Regions from separate parts of the Homo sapiens genome. Here region 1 is linked to region 2. Evidence: promoter capture Hi-C in human tissues and cell types (Jung and others, 2019). All regions are on one chromosome and are shown on one strand. Each heading gives the region's core, a stretch centred on a gene start or on the middle of the fragment in contact. The rest is flanking DNA. Distances are from core to core; before and after follow the strand shown. Region 1 holds the start of EXOSC5 (exosome component 5). Region 2 holds the start of MIA (MIA SH3 domain containing).

The links. The method cuts DNA at HindIII sites, captures the fragments that hold promoters and counts their contacts. A contact is called where the count stands out against the background at its distance.
Region 1: a contact is called between the fragment with the promoter of EXOSC5 here and the fragment with the promoter of MIA in region 2, in 1 of the 25 tissues and cell types used here (spleen).

What each region holds. Positions count from the first base shown.
Region 1 is chr19:41,395,457-41,401,999 of GRCh38, forward strand. It overlaps EXOSC5 (exosome component 5), which reads right to left and starts at 1,903. Exons shown (of 6, transcript NM_020158.4): 1 at 1,725-1,903. The coding sequence starts at 1,872. It overlaps BCKDHA (branched chain keto acid dehydrogenase E1 subunit alpha), which reads left to right and starts at 2,362. Exons shown (of 9, transcript NM_000709.4): 1 at 2,362-2,479. The coding sequence starts at 2,372. RefSeq lists a silencer at 1,826-2,114 and enhancers at 1,873-2,545, 2,111-2,390, 2,546-3,217. The HindIII fragment of the contact is 15,471 bases long and covers 1-6,543 here.
Region 2 is chr19:40,770,689-40,776,937 of GRCh38, forward strand. MIA (MIA SH3 domain containing) reads left to right here and starts at 4,833. Exons shown (of 4, transcript NM_006533.4): 1 at 4,833-4,981; 2 at 5,064-5,197. The coding sequence starts at 4,855. MIA-RAB4B (MIA-RAB4B readthrough (NMD candidate)) reads left to right here and starts at 4,849. Exons shown (of 10, transcript NR_037775.1): 1 at 4,849-4,981; 2 at 5,064-5,197. The HindIII fragment of the contact is 14,863 bases long and covers 1-6,249 here.

The sequences.
Region 1 (6,543 bases), core at 653-3,152, 620 kb after region 2:
TCTGATCCTCTTACAGCAGAACTCCTGAACAGCTGCCTCTTCTTCCTTTTCTGTGACCCCACCACTCCATTGCGGCAGCTCAACATCGTCACCACTGACCTCCAAATGATCAACCCTCCCATGACCCGGCTGTCAGTAAGGCTGAAACAGCTGGTCAGCCCTCACATCTCAGACATGCTCTTTTCTTGGCCCCAGGTCACCACCATCTCCTGGTTTCCCCCTAACTCTCTGGGCGTTCCTTCTGAGTCTCCTTTGCTAGCTTGTCACATGTCTCTGACTGCTCAAGTTGGAAGGCCTAGGGCTTGGTCCTGGGACCTCTTCTCTTTTCCATCTACACTCACTTCGTTCAGGCAATAGCCTGAAATACCATCTATATAGCCAGAGAGTTCCAAATTGCCTATGTCCAGCTTGGGTCTCTCTTCTGATTTCCAGACTTGTACAGATCTGGGCAGAAACCTTAGTTATGCCTGAATCTTTTTCCTCGCACTCAAACCAAACTATACGTAAGTTTTGTCCGTATTACTTTCAAACTACATCCAGAATCTCATCACCTCCACTACTCCTGCTCTGGCTGGAGCCACCATCACCTCCCTGTTTTCCCCCATACTCCCCACAATCAACACAGCAGCCAAATTTTGTTAAAATGTATTGGGGCTGGGCGTGGTGGCTCATACCTGTATGAGCACTTTGGGAGGAGGATTGCTTGAGCCCAGGAGTTCAAGACCAACCTGGGTGACATCGTGAGACGCTGTCTCAATTTTTTTTTTTTTTGAGACAGAGTCTTGCTTTGTCGCTCACGCTGGAGTACAATGGCACGATCTCGGCCCACTGCAACTTCTGCCTCCCAGGTTCAAGTGATTGTCCTGCCTCAGCCTCCCGAGTAGCTGGGATTACAGGCGCCCGCCACCATGCCTGGCTAGTTTTTGTATTTTTAGTAGAGACAGGGTTTCGCCATGTTGGCCAGGCTGGTCTCGAACTCCTGACCTCAGGTGAGCCACAGGTCTTGGCCTCCCAAAGTGTGGGGATTACAGGCGTGAGCCACCGCCCCCGGCCTCCCGTCTCAAACGTTAAAGAGAAATATTCTTGGAGTTAATCTACTTCTGAGAGTTATTTAGCTAGGAAAAGGGGATATTTGCTCTATAGGTAAGACTTGCCCTAATCTTTTTTTTTTTTTTTTTTTTGACTTGCCCTAATCTTAGGGATATTTACTTGTGTGGAGAGATGCAGTGAGGTAGCGGTGGGGATGTATTTCTCAACCCAGCGCAATGACATTATCTTCAATTTGAGGAGTATTTACGTGGGTGAAAGATCCGCCACAGTCCACAGTATGCAAATAGACAGGTTTGCTTCAGTCCGGGATGCAAGGACCTAGAGGGTGTGTGTGTGGGGGGTGGGGGTGGGAGGGTGGAGGAGGAATCGAGTTAAGGGGGATATTTACCCTGGCGAGGTGATTTTCCCTATTCTGAAATATCAATTCTTGGGCGGACAGTCTGCCCCTCCTCTCATTCTCAGAGATAGTTACAAAGATGGAACTATCTTCTCCTTTCTAGTCGTGAGGGAGAGATGTGTGTATCCCTGCGTATTTAGTAGTATTCAATCGGACAAGAAATCATGCATCAACGCAGGAGTGACATTTACCAGCTGGTATCGTGAGGAGGTGGGCACTCGGTTGCACAGTACACGGTAGTCCCTCTCCAAAAGAAAGACCTGGGTGAAGTTCTTACCTTGCAGGAAGGAAGCAGAGCCATCTGGCCGCGACAGCAGGTTCTGTTCGCAGGCAAAGTGCCGGAGGCTGCAGCCAGGACCCCGAGGGCTGGACCCTGTTCCATTTTCAGCACGGATTTTGGCGTCAGTATGCGTCTCCTCCTCCATCGCGCCGAGCCCACGTGCGGCTGCAGTTGTCACTTCCGCCTGGCAGCGCGCGCCGCAAACAGGCTGCGTAACCAGTGCGCACGCGCCGGGCTGGGCCATCCTCCTGGGCGTCCGCACGTGGCTTAGCGTTTACCAACAATCTGGCTCCGCCCAGTCCCACCTCCTAACTCTGGCAACGCCATTGGACATTTGGGAACAGAAGGCAGGCCTTGGCATTGATCCGCTTTACTCTGGGCCCCCGGGCCCTAAATCCCTGAGGCCCTGGTCAGGTTGCCCTCTTCTTTGCCTGTTACAGGAGTAACTACAATGAGGCGATTGGAGAAAATTTTGGGTAGATAGATTTTTTTTTCTCCAAATCTCTGTGCATTCTATCTACCACAGAACGGGAAGAAGATGGTTTTCTTGTCAGATGGTGCTGGAGTTTGCGTCAGGCACATAAAGAGGCAGCCCCGAATCTAGCCTACGTGAGTGCCGGACCGCTGAGTGGTTGTTAGCCAAGATGGCGGTAGCGATCGCTGCAGCGAGGGTCTGGCGGCTAAACCGTGGTTTGAGCCAGGCTGCCCTCCTGCTGCTGCGGCAGCCTGGGGCTCGGGGACTGGCTAGATCTGTGAGTACCTGGGCCCCAGGCGGTTTTCCCAAAGGGGATTAGGGATGTAAAGGCTATCTTCAGAGTGTGGGGTCCCTGAAGGATATGAAGGAAGGGCTGTCACAAAAGGGAAAAAGAGTGGGAGACTCCTTGGAGAAGACACCGAAGGGAAGATCTGCCACTTCCTTAGGAGACGAAAAGAACTTCCACTTCTTTAGGAGAGGAAAAAACCCGTTTGCAACTTCTTTGTGGGCCCTGAGGGAGACGACTTGAAGAGAGAGATGGGGGTTCCTTATTAGCTGCCACTGGTATTCAGGGGAGGCTCCTTGGAGGAACAGGGGAAGACCGCAAGACCTTCTCCCTCAGGGTTTGGAGAATGAAACTGACTTTGTAAGGGAGGGACTTTCTTCTGGGCAAAGATCCCTCTTCAAGAAGAAGAAAGAAGAGAACAGGTCCCTGTCACAGGCTGCATAGGGCCTTGTATTTCTTTGCTCCTTTGCCACAATTCTGATTTTAAAATGAATTGTGTAAAAAATTTGTTTGATTCCTGTGTCTCTTGATCGAATATCAAGACAGAGAATTCGTGTGTTCTGGACACTGTACAGAGGAGACGATTAATATTTGTTGAATTAATGAGGGGAAAAAAGGAGGGAGAGAGGTACAGACAGGGCACTTTGCCCACATTTCTTAGAAACACTTGAGAAGGCTTTGTTTCTTGTCAAAAGGGTCACAATCCCTTCAGGTGGATGCTGCTAAGGGCAAGATTACACTGCAAAAAACCTAGGTGGAAGCCTATCTTTAGACGGGGAGAGGCAATGGGTTGCAGAAGAGCTTTGAACTACAGTTGACAGATAGGAGAGTAGTGGTTACATGGGTGGATGCATGTCCTTGCTCTGCCGCTTTCCACTTGTGTAGCCTTGGCCAACGGACTGCACTTCTCTGGATCTATGGAGCTAATTTTCCTCTCTAAAATATTAACAGTGGCCACCTCATAGGGCTGTGAAAAATCAATATGTAAAATGCTAAGGACTGGACCTGGCACATCCTAAGGGCAATAGGAATGTTGATAGTGAGGGTGGAGGGAAGGGACAGAAACTAACCTTGGAGATGGGGAGAAGAAAGGGGTGACCTTGGGAAGGCCTGGATTGGTGAGGCCCTGGGGAAAAAAATCTGAAAAGATATTGTGAGGTTGAGTCTGATCCTCTGATCCCCAATCCATAAGGAGGGGAAGATGGAATCTGTAGAAAGAAGCTCTGGGTAGGGGAACAAACGGGAGGAGGGTGAAGAAGATGGGCCAGGAGTAGGACGTAGTAGGTATCTAGGAACGGAGTCACTTGAAACAGGTAAATACAGAAGGGCTGCAGGAGCAAGGTGTGGGTAGGGCAGTCTCTTGCCTTTGGGCTGGAGACCTTTTCACTTTTTTTTTTTTTTTTTTTTTTGAGCAGTTCATATCCTCCACAGCTGATCTCAGTCCCAGGGGCCCATTGGCTGGGCAAGTGGGGCAGGAGGTGGGCAGGACTGGGGCAGGCTAGGGAAAGGTCATTTATGGCTGATTAAATCTTTCTCTCCTGTCTCAATCTCTTGATTACCTTTCCTCTTGCTTCCCCTACTTCATTTTTGGTGGGGAGTGGGGAGGGAAGAAGTCCCTACTTTTTATTTATATATATTTAAATTTGTATTATCTTAAGAGTTATTGTTTTTTCCCCTTTATTTCTCCCACCTGTTCTTTCTCTCTTCTTCTTTCTTTCCTCTCCTTCTCCTCTCCTCTCCTCCCCTCTCCTTTTTCTTTTCTTTTCTTTTTCCCTTTCCTTTCCTTTCCTTTTCTCTTCTCTTTTCTCTCTCTCTTTCTTTCTGTACCTCTCTTTCCTTTTTCTTTTTTTTTCTTTTTTGAGACAGAGTTTCACTCTCTCGCCTAGGCTGGAGTGCAGCAGCATGATCTTGACTTACTGCAATCTCTGCCTGCCGAGTTCAAGCAATTCTCCTGCCTCAGCCTCCCTAGTAGCTGGGATTACAGGCATGCACTATCACGCCTGGCTAATTTTTGTATTTTTGGTAGGGACGAGGTTTCACCATGTTGTCCAGGCTGGTCTCGAACTTCTGGCCTCAAGTTCCGCCTGTCTTGGCCTCCAAAAGCATGAGCCACTGCGCCTAGCCTTTTCTTTTTTTGAGACAAGGTCTCACTCTGTCACCCAGGCTGGAGTGAGTGCAGTGGTGTGATCATGGCTCACTGCAGCCTCAACCTCCTGGGCTCAAGCAATCCCCCCACCTCCACCTCCTAAGTAGCTGGGACCACAGGCACGTGCTACTACGCCTGGCTAATTTTTAATTTTTTTTTTTTTTTTTGAGACGGAGTCTTGCTCTGTCACCCAAGCTGGAGTGCAGTGGCACGATCTCGGCTCACTGCAACCTCCACTTCCCAGGTTCAAGTGATTCTCCTGCCTCAGCCTCCCAAATAGCTGGGACTACTGGCGTGCGCCACCATACCCAGTTAATTTTTGTATTTTTAGTAGAGATGGGGTTTCACCATGTTGACCAGGCTGGTCTTGAACTCCTGATCTAAGGTGATCTGCCCGCCTCGGCCTCCCAAAGTGCTGGGATTACAGGCATAAGCCACTGTGCCTGGCTGCGCCTGGCTAATTTTTAAATCTTTGTAGAGATGGGGTTTTGCCATGTTTTCCAGGCTGGTCTTGAACTCCTGGACTCAAGCGATCTTCCTGCCTCAGCCTCCCAAAGTGCAGGATGACAAGCGTGAGCCACCTTGCCTGGCCATATTATTAAATTATCATGAGTTTAAGTTTAAGTAGCCACAAGTGGGCTGGGTGCGGTGGCTCATGCCTGTAATCCCAGCATTTTGAGAGGCCAAGGTGGGCGGGTTGCCTGAGGCCAGGAGTTCAAGACCAGCCTGGCCAACATGGTGAAACCCCATCTCTACTAAAAATACAAAAAAATTAGCTGGGCGTAATGGCGTGTGCCTGTAGTCCCAGCTACTTGGGAGGCTGAGGCAGAAGAATCGCTTGAACCTGGGAGGCGGAGATTGCAGTGAGCCGAGATCGCACCACTATACCCCAGCCTAGGTGACAGAGCAGCCCTCTGTCTCAAAATAAGATAGCCACAAGTGGTTGGTGGCTGCCACATTAGATGGTGCAGGGTTTTTGTTTTGTTTTGTTTTTTGTTTTTTCGAGGTGGAGTTTTGCTCTCATTGCCTAGGCTGGAGTGCAATGGCATGATCTTGGCTCACCACAACCTCCTCTTCCTGGGTTCAAGCGATTCTCCTGCCTCAGCCTCCCGAGTAGCTGGGATTACAGGCATGCACCACCATGCCTGGCTAATTTTGTATTTTTAGTAGAGACAGGGTTTCTCCATGTTGATCAGGCTGGTCTTGAACTCCCGACCTCAGGCGACCCACCCACCTCGGCCTCCCAGAGTGCTGGGATTACAGGTGTGAGCCACCATGCCTGGCTAAGATGATGCAGTTTTATCCAGGTGGAGATGAAGAAATAGTCAGGGAAAGGTTGAGAGGCTGCATATTGTAGACAGATTGGATTACTGGGTTCACTGGGGAAGATTGGATTAGAAGGAGGAGTGGGGCTGCTTTACTTGTCCCCGACTTCTTGCCCCTGCTCTGCCCACTCCTTCATTGAATACCCTGCTGCCCTGCAGATGTGTTTGCCTGATTTTCACCTCCCTTCCTGTCTCTGTTATCATAGCAGACGTTTTAGTGCTCAGGGAAAGGAGGAGGAAGGAAACTCAGATTGTCAAGGAATTGTGAGTCAGTTTCTCAGCCACTACCCCAGGCCTGGGCTTGGCTAAGTCATTTCACCTCTCTGACCCTAGCTAGTGGGGTGAATAGAGTCCCTACCCTGTTGGAAGTCAGGAAGCCCCTGGAGCTCGCTCTGTGCTAATTATCGGTGACTATTTCTGTGACCCAGCTCTTCAGGGGCAGCCTGTCTGGGGGTTCCAGTGCCCTGTGCAGTATCTCCAAGTGGTAGGTACTCAGTGTATGTATTAGTCCGTTTTCAGGCTGCTAATAAAAACACACCCAAGACTGGGTAATTTATAAAGAAAAAGAGGCTTAATGGACTCAC
Region 2 (6,249 bases), core at 3,583-6,082:
TACTTGGAGGCTGAAGCAGAATTGCTTGAACCCGGGAGGCGGAGGTTGCAGTAAGCCGAGATCATGCCACTGCACTCCAGCCTGGGCGACAGAGTGAGATTCTGTCTCAAAATTTTAAAAAATTAAAAAAAAAAATTGTGCTTCTCAGTGGCCCTGCTCCTGTGGCTGCAATATGGAGGAAGAGTACAAAGGGTGGGTACAAAGACTGGCCTCTGTCTTGCTGTTGGGAAATCCAGCTGCCACGTTGTGAGCTTGTGTCTGGAATTGGTTCCTTCTGGTGGGTTCTTGGCGTCGCTGACTTCAAGAATGAAGCCATGCACCCTCGCAGTGAGTGTCACAGTTCTTAAAGATGGTGTGCCTGGAGTTTGTTCCTTCAGATGTTCAGATGTATCTGGAATTTCTTCCTTCTGGTGGGTTTGTAGTCTATGCTGAGTTCAGGAGTGAAGCCACAGACCTTCGCGGTGAGTGTTACAGCTCATAAAGATAATGTGGACCTATAGAATGTGCAACAGCAAAATTTATTGCAAAGAGCAAAAGAACAAGGCTTCCACAGCATGGAAGGCGCCCTGAGCCAGTTGCAGCTGCTGGCTAGGGTGGCCTGCTTTTATTTCCTTATTTGGTCCCACCCACATCCTGCTGATTGATCCATTTTACAGATAGCTGATTGGTCCATTTTACAGAGTGCTGATTGGTCTGTTTTACAGAGTCTGATTGGTCCGTTTTTACAGAGAGCTGATTGGTGCGTTTACAAATCTTTACCTAGACACAGAGCGCTGATTGGCGTGCTTACAATCCTTTAGCTAGACACAGAGCGCTGATTGGTGCATTTACAATCCTTTAGCTAGACAGAAAAGTTCTCCAAGTCCCCTACCTGATTAGCTAGACACAGAGCACTGATTGGTGTGTTTACAAACCTTTAGCTAGACACAGAGTGCTGATTGGTGCATTTACAATCCTTTAGGTAGACAGAAAAGTTCTCCAAGTCCTCACCGGCCCAGAGGCCCAGCCATCTTCACCTCTCAAGCTGTCTGTAGAGGTCCACGTGTCAAGAAAACTGAGGACAGAGGCCCTCAGTCCAGTTCCCACAAGCAACTGCATCTCCCCAACAGCTGCCTGAATGAGTTTGGAAGCAGTCCTCCCACCATTCAGCCTTCAGATGAAACTGCACCCCTGGCTGACAGGCTGATTGCAGCCTTATAGCAGACCTTAAGCCTGAGACATTCGACCCACAGAAAAGGTGATAATTTTGGTCTTTTTTTTTCTAAACAGGTTCTTGCTCTAGAGTGCAGTGGCACGATCATGGCTCACTGCGGCCTCTACATCCTGGGTTCAAGTGGTCCTCCCACCTCAACCTCCTGAGTGGCTGGGACTACAGGTTTGTACCACCATGCACAGCTAGTTTTTCTCTTTTTTTCTTCTTTTTGTAGGTACAAGGGTCTCCCTGTGTTACTTAGGCTGGTCTCAAATTCTTAGGCTCTAGCAATCCTCCTGTCTCAGCCTCCCAAAGTGTTGGGATTACAGGCATGAGCCACTGCACTGGGGCAATGTTGGTCTTAGGCTAATTATGCAGCAGGAGATACATGCACTGTGCTTTGGGAATTGAAGTCACTTCTATTTCTTTGTGGCTTCATCAGTAATATGGGGCAGGGGGCACGGTTCCCACAGCTGATTCTTGAGTGTTCTTTCTGAGTATCCTTAATACTTCACACACTATCATATATCTGAACTTTGTTCATTGATTATCTCCCCTTTAATTTTCATTCCTTGATGAATCTCCAGGGTCTGGATTAAGTCCTAGGATACTTTATGTACTCATGAAATCTTCAATGAATGAAGAAATGATTTTTTTTTTTTTTGAGACAGAGTCTCACTCTGTCACCCAGGCTGGAGTGCAGTGGCATGATCTTGGCTCATTGCAACCTCCACCTCCCAGGTTCAAGCAATTCTTCTGCCTCAGCCTCCTGAGTAGCTGGGACTACAGGCATGCGCCACCATGCCTGGCTCATTTTTGTATTTTTCAGTAGTGACAGGGTTTCACCATATTGGCCAGGCTGGTCTTGAACTCCTGACCTCAGGTGATCCACCCACCTCAGCCTCCCAAAGTGCTGGGATTACAGGTGTGAGCCACTGCATCCGGCGGATTTTTTTTTTTTTTTTTTTGAGACAGGGTCTCACTCTCTCGTTCAGGCTGGAGTGCAGTGGCGTGATCTTGGCTCACTGCAGCCTCCACCTCCCAGTTTCAAGTGATTCTGGTTCGGCCTCCCAAGTAGCTGGGACTACAGGTGTGTGCCACCATGCCTGTCTAATTTTTGTATTTTCACCACGTTGGCCAGGCTGGTCTCAAAACTCCTGACCTCAAGTGATCCGCCTGCCTCAGCCTCCCAAAGTGCTGGGATTACAAGAGTGAGCCACCATGTCTGGCCTGAATGAAGAAATAATTTTTTAAAGAGTGTTTTAAAGTGGGGCCGGGTGCGGTGGCTCACACCTGTAATCCCCACACTTTTGGAGGCCAAGGTGGGTGGGTCACTTGAGGTCAGGAGTTTGACACCAGCCTGACCAACATGGTGAAACCCCATCTCTACTAAAAATACAAAATTAGCTGGGCATGGTGGCAGATGCCTGTAATCCCCGCTACTTGGGAGGCTGAGGCAGGAGAATCACTTGAACCCGGGAGGGGGAGGTCACAGTGAGCTAAGATCGTGCCATTGCACTCCAGCTTGGGTGACAAGAGCGAAACAATGTCTCAAAAAAAAAAAAAAAAAAAAAGAAATTGCATTTCAAAGCCAGGTGCAGTGGCTCACACTTATAGTCACAGCTACTTAGGAGGCTGCGGTGGGAGAATAGCTTGAGCCCAGTTGTTCAAGGCTGAGTGAGCTGTGATTGTGGCACTGCACTCTAGTCTGGGTGACAGAGTGAGACCCTGCCTGTAAAAAAAAAAAAATCTTTCAGGCCAGACGCGGTGACTCACTCCTATAATCCCAGCACTTTGGAACGCCGAGGCGGGTGGATCACCTGAGGTGGGGAGTTCGAGACCAGCCTGGCCAACATGGACAAACCCTGTCTCTACTAAAAATACAAAAATAGCCGGGCATGGTGGCACATGCCTGTAATCCCAGCTACTCGGGAGGCTGAGGCAGGAGAATTGCTTGAACTCGGGAGGTGGAGGTTGCAGTGAGCTGAGATTGTACCACTGCAATATGAGACTCCATCTCAAAGAAAAAAAAGAAAAAAAAAAAAAGATAGCATAGCAATGGCTGTGGGCCTGGATACAAGTCTTAGCCTCTCCACTTCTCCACTTCCTGGCTCTGTAAGCCTTAGACAAGTTCCTTAACTCCACACTTCCATTTCCATGTAACAAGGGGTTATAGGCCAGGCATTGGTGGCTCATGCCTGTAATCCCAGTGCTTTGGGAGGCCAAGGCGGGAGGATACTTGGGGACAAGAGTTCAAGACCAGCCCAGGCAGCACAGTAAGACATTGGCTCTAGAAAAATAAAAATAAAAGAAATCATCCAAGAATGGTGACTTGCCTACTATTCTACTCGAGAGGCTGAGAGGGGAGGATTTCTTGAGCCCAGGAGTTTGAGGATGCAGTGAGCTATGATCACATCACTGTACTTCAGCCTGAGCAACAGCAAGATCCTGTCTCAAAAAATTAAATTAGGCTGGGCTTGGTGGCTCATGCCTGTAATCCCAGCACTTTGGAAGGCCATGGTGGGCAGATTGCTTGAGCCCAGGAGTTTGAGACGAGGCTGGGCAACATGACGAAACCCCGGCTCTACCAAAAAATACAAAAAATTAACTGGGCATAATGGTACATGTCTGTGGTCCCAGCTACTCGGTAGGCTGAGGTGGGAGGAATGCTTGAGCCCAGGAAATAGGGGCTACAGTGAACCAGGATCATGCCAGTGCACTCCAACCTGGGCAACAGAGCAAGACTCTACCTCAAAATAATTATTTAAAAAAATGGATTAATTGGGCATAGGTGGCTTGTGCCTGTAGTCCCAGTTACTCAGGAGGCTGAGGTGGGAGGATTGCCTGAGTCTAGGAGGTTGAGGCTGCAGTGAGCCGGGATGGCACCATTGCACTCCACCTGGGCAACAGGGTGAGACCCTGTCTCAAAAAAGAAAAAAAAGGGAGGGGTTATAATCACTCCTCCTGACATGATACAGAGTATCCATTTGAGTTCATAACATAAATATGTACTTGGTGAATGCTCTGTAACTATTGGCTTTTTTATTGTTCCCATTTTACATATAAGGAAGCTGAGGCTTTGTGAGGAGAAATAGCTTAGCCCAGGTCATCCAGTGGGAAGCGTCTGGTGCAGAGGAATAGTGATCATGGTGGGACTTTGCCTAGCCTAAGGTTCAGCATACAATATTCAGTCAGTACTCAAGGGCTGGGCTGTTTCTGGTAATCAAAGGGCTGCCTTGTTCTCCTGCCCCACAGCACAGGAAATTCCAAGGTGGTTTTCTTTACAGGCTCCTCCGCTTCTGTGGCCAGAGGGGACAGCGGAGGAGCCCAGGTACCTAAGCCAACTCAAGAGAAGATGGAATTGAATATTTCAACCACCTTATCTAGGCCTCTGTGATTGTTGAGGAGGGGGCTGTCACTGGGAAAGTTGTGAGCTGCTTTGGACCTTATCTGGGAATTTCCTTGGGCTTACAGCCTTTACCCTATCCTTGAAATGGTTCTGGTTTCATAGCAACTTCTAGGTGGTGTGGGCGAAGTTTGGGACTGGTTTAGGGCGGGGACAAGACCAAGAACACAAGTTTCCTTGTACTACGGGAGAGAGGGAGGGGAGGAAATTGGAGACCCCAGCACCCCCTTGCTCACTCTCTTGCTCACAGTCCACGATGGCCCGGTCCCTGGTGTGCCTTGGTGTCATCATCTTGCTGTCTGCCTTCTCCGGACCTGGTGTCAGGGGTGGTCCTATGCCCAAGCTGGCTGACCGGAAGCTGTGTGCGGACCAGGAGTGCAGCCGTAAGAATGGGGAGGGGAGAATTGGGGGCTTGGGCGTTAGCCTGTGTGGAGGGTGCTGCATTCCCTTCTATTCCTTCCCTAGACCCTATCTCCATGGCTGTGGCCCTTCAGGACTACATGGCCCCCGACTGCCGATTCCTGACCATTCACCGGGGCCAAGTGGTGTATGTCTTCTCCAAGCTGAAGGGCCGTGGGCGGCTCTTCTGGGGAGGCAGCGTGAGTCTTGGGAGAGTGAAAGAGGGAAGGGTACAGAGCTGGGGTAGACTCATTATCCCCATGAAGGGAAGATTTGAGGGGGGTGAACTGAAATAGACATTGTGGGGGGATATTGTTACTTACTTTATTTTATTTGCTTATTATTTTTTAATTTTTTCCGAGACAGAGTCTTGCTCTGTCACCCAGGCTGGAGTGCAATGGCACGATCTCGGCTCACTGTAACCTCCACCTCTTGGGTTTAAGCGATTCTCCTGCCTCAGCCTCCCAAGTACCTGGGATTACAGGCATGCACCACCACACCTGGCTAATTTTTGTATTTTTAGTAGAGACAGGGTTTTACCATATTGGCCAGGCTGGTCTTGAACTCCTGACCTCATGATCTGCCCGCCTTGGCCTCCCGGAGTGCTGGGATTACAGGTGTGAGCCACTGCCCCCCAGCCTATTTTCACTTTATTTACCAATTTTAGGACCTGATATGGTCCCACGTTCTGTTCTAGACACCAAGATACAACAACAAATGATCCTTTTTATTCTAATGGAGGGAAATGAACAAAAAGCAAGGCATAAAAAATAGCAGCAGCCGGGCACAGTAGCTCACACCTGTAATCCCAAGTAAGGCCAAGTTGGGAGGATAGCTTGAGCCCAGGAGTTCGAGACCAGCCTGGGCAACATAGCAAGACCCCCATCTCTATAAAAAAAAATTTAAAATTAACTGGGCTTCATGGCATGTGTCTGTGGTCCCGGCTACTCGGGAGGCTGAGGTGGGAGGATTGCTTGATCCCAGAAGTTGAGGCTGCAGTGAGCCGTGATCATGCTACTGCACCTCAACCTGGGCGACACAATGAGACCCTGTTTCCAAAATAATAATAATAATAAAAGCAAATATGCGCTGCTGTGAGAATTAACAGAGACTTACTTGGGTGTTCAGAAAGGGCCTCTGAACAGGTGGCATTTAAGCTGAGATTCATATGACAAGGATGGAGCAGTTATGTGGAGATCAGGGAGAAGGGAGAATGCAAAGGCCTTCAGCAGGCACAAGCTTGCCATCTTCC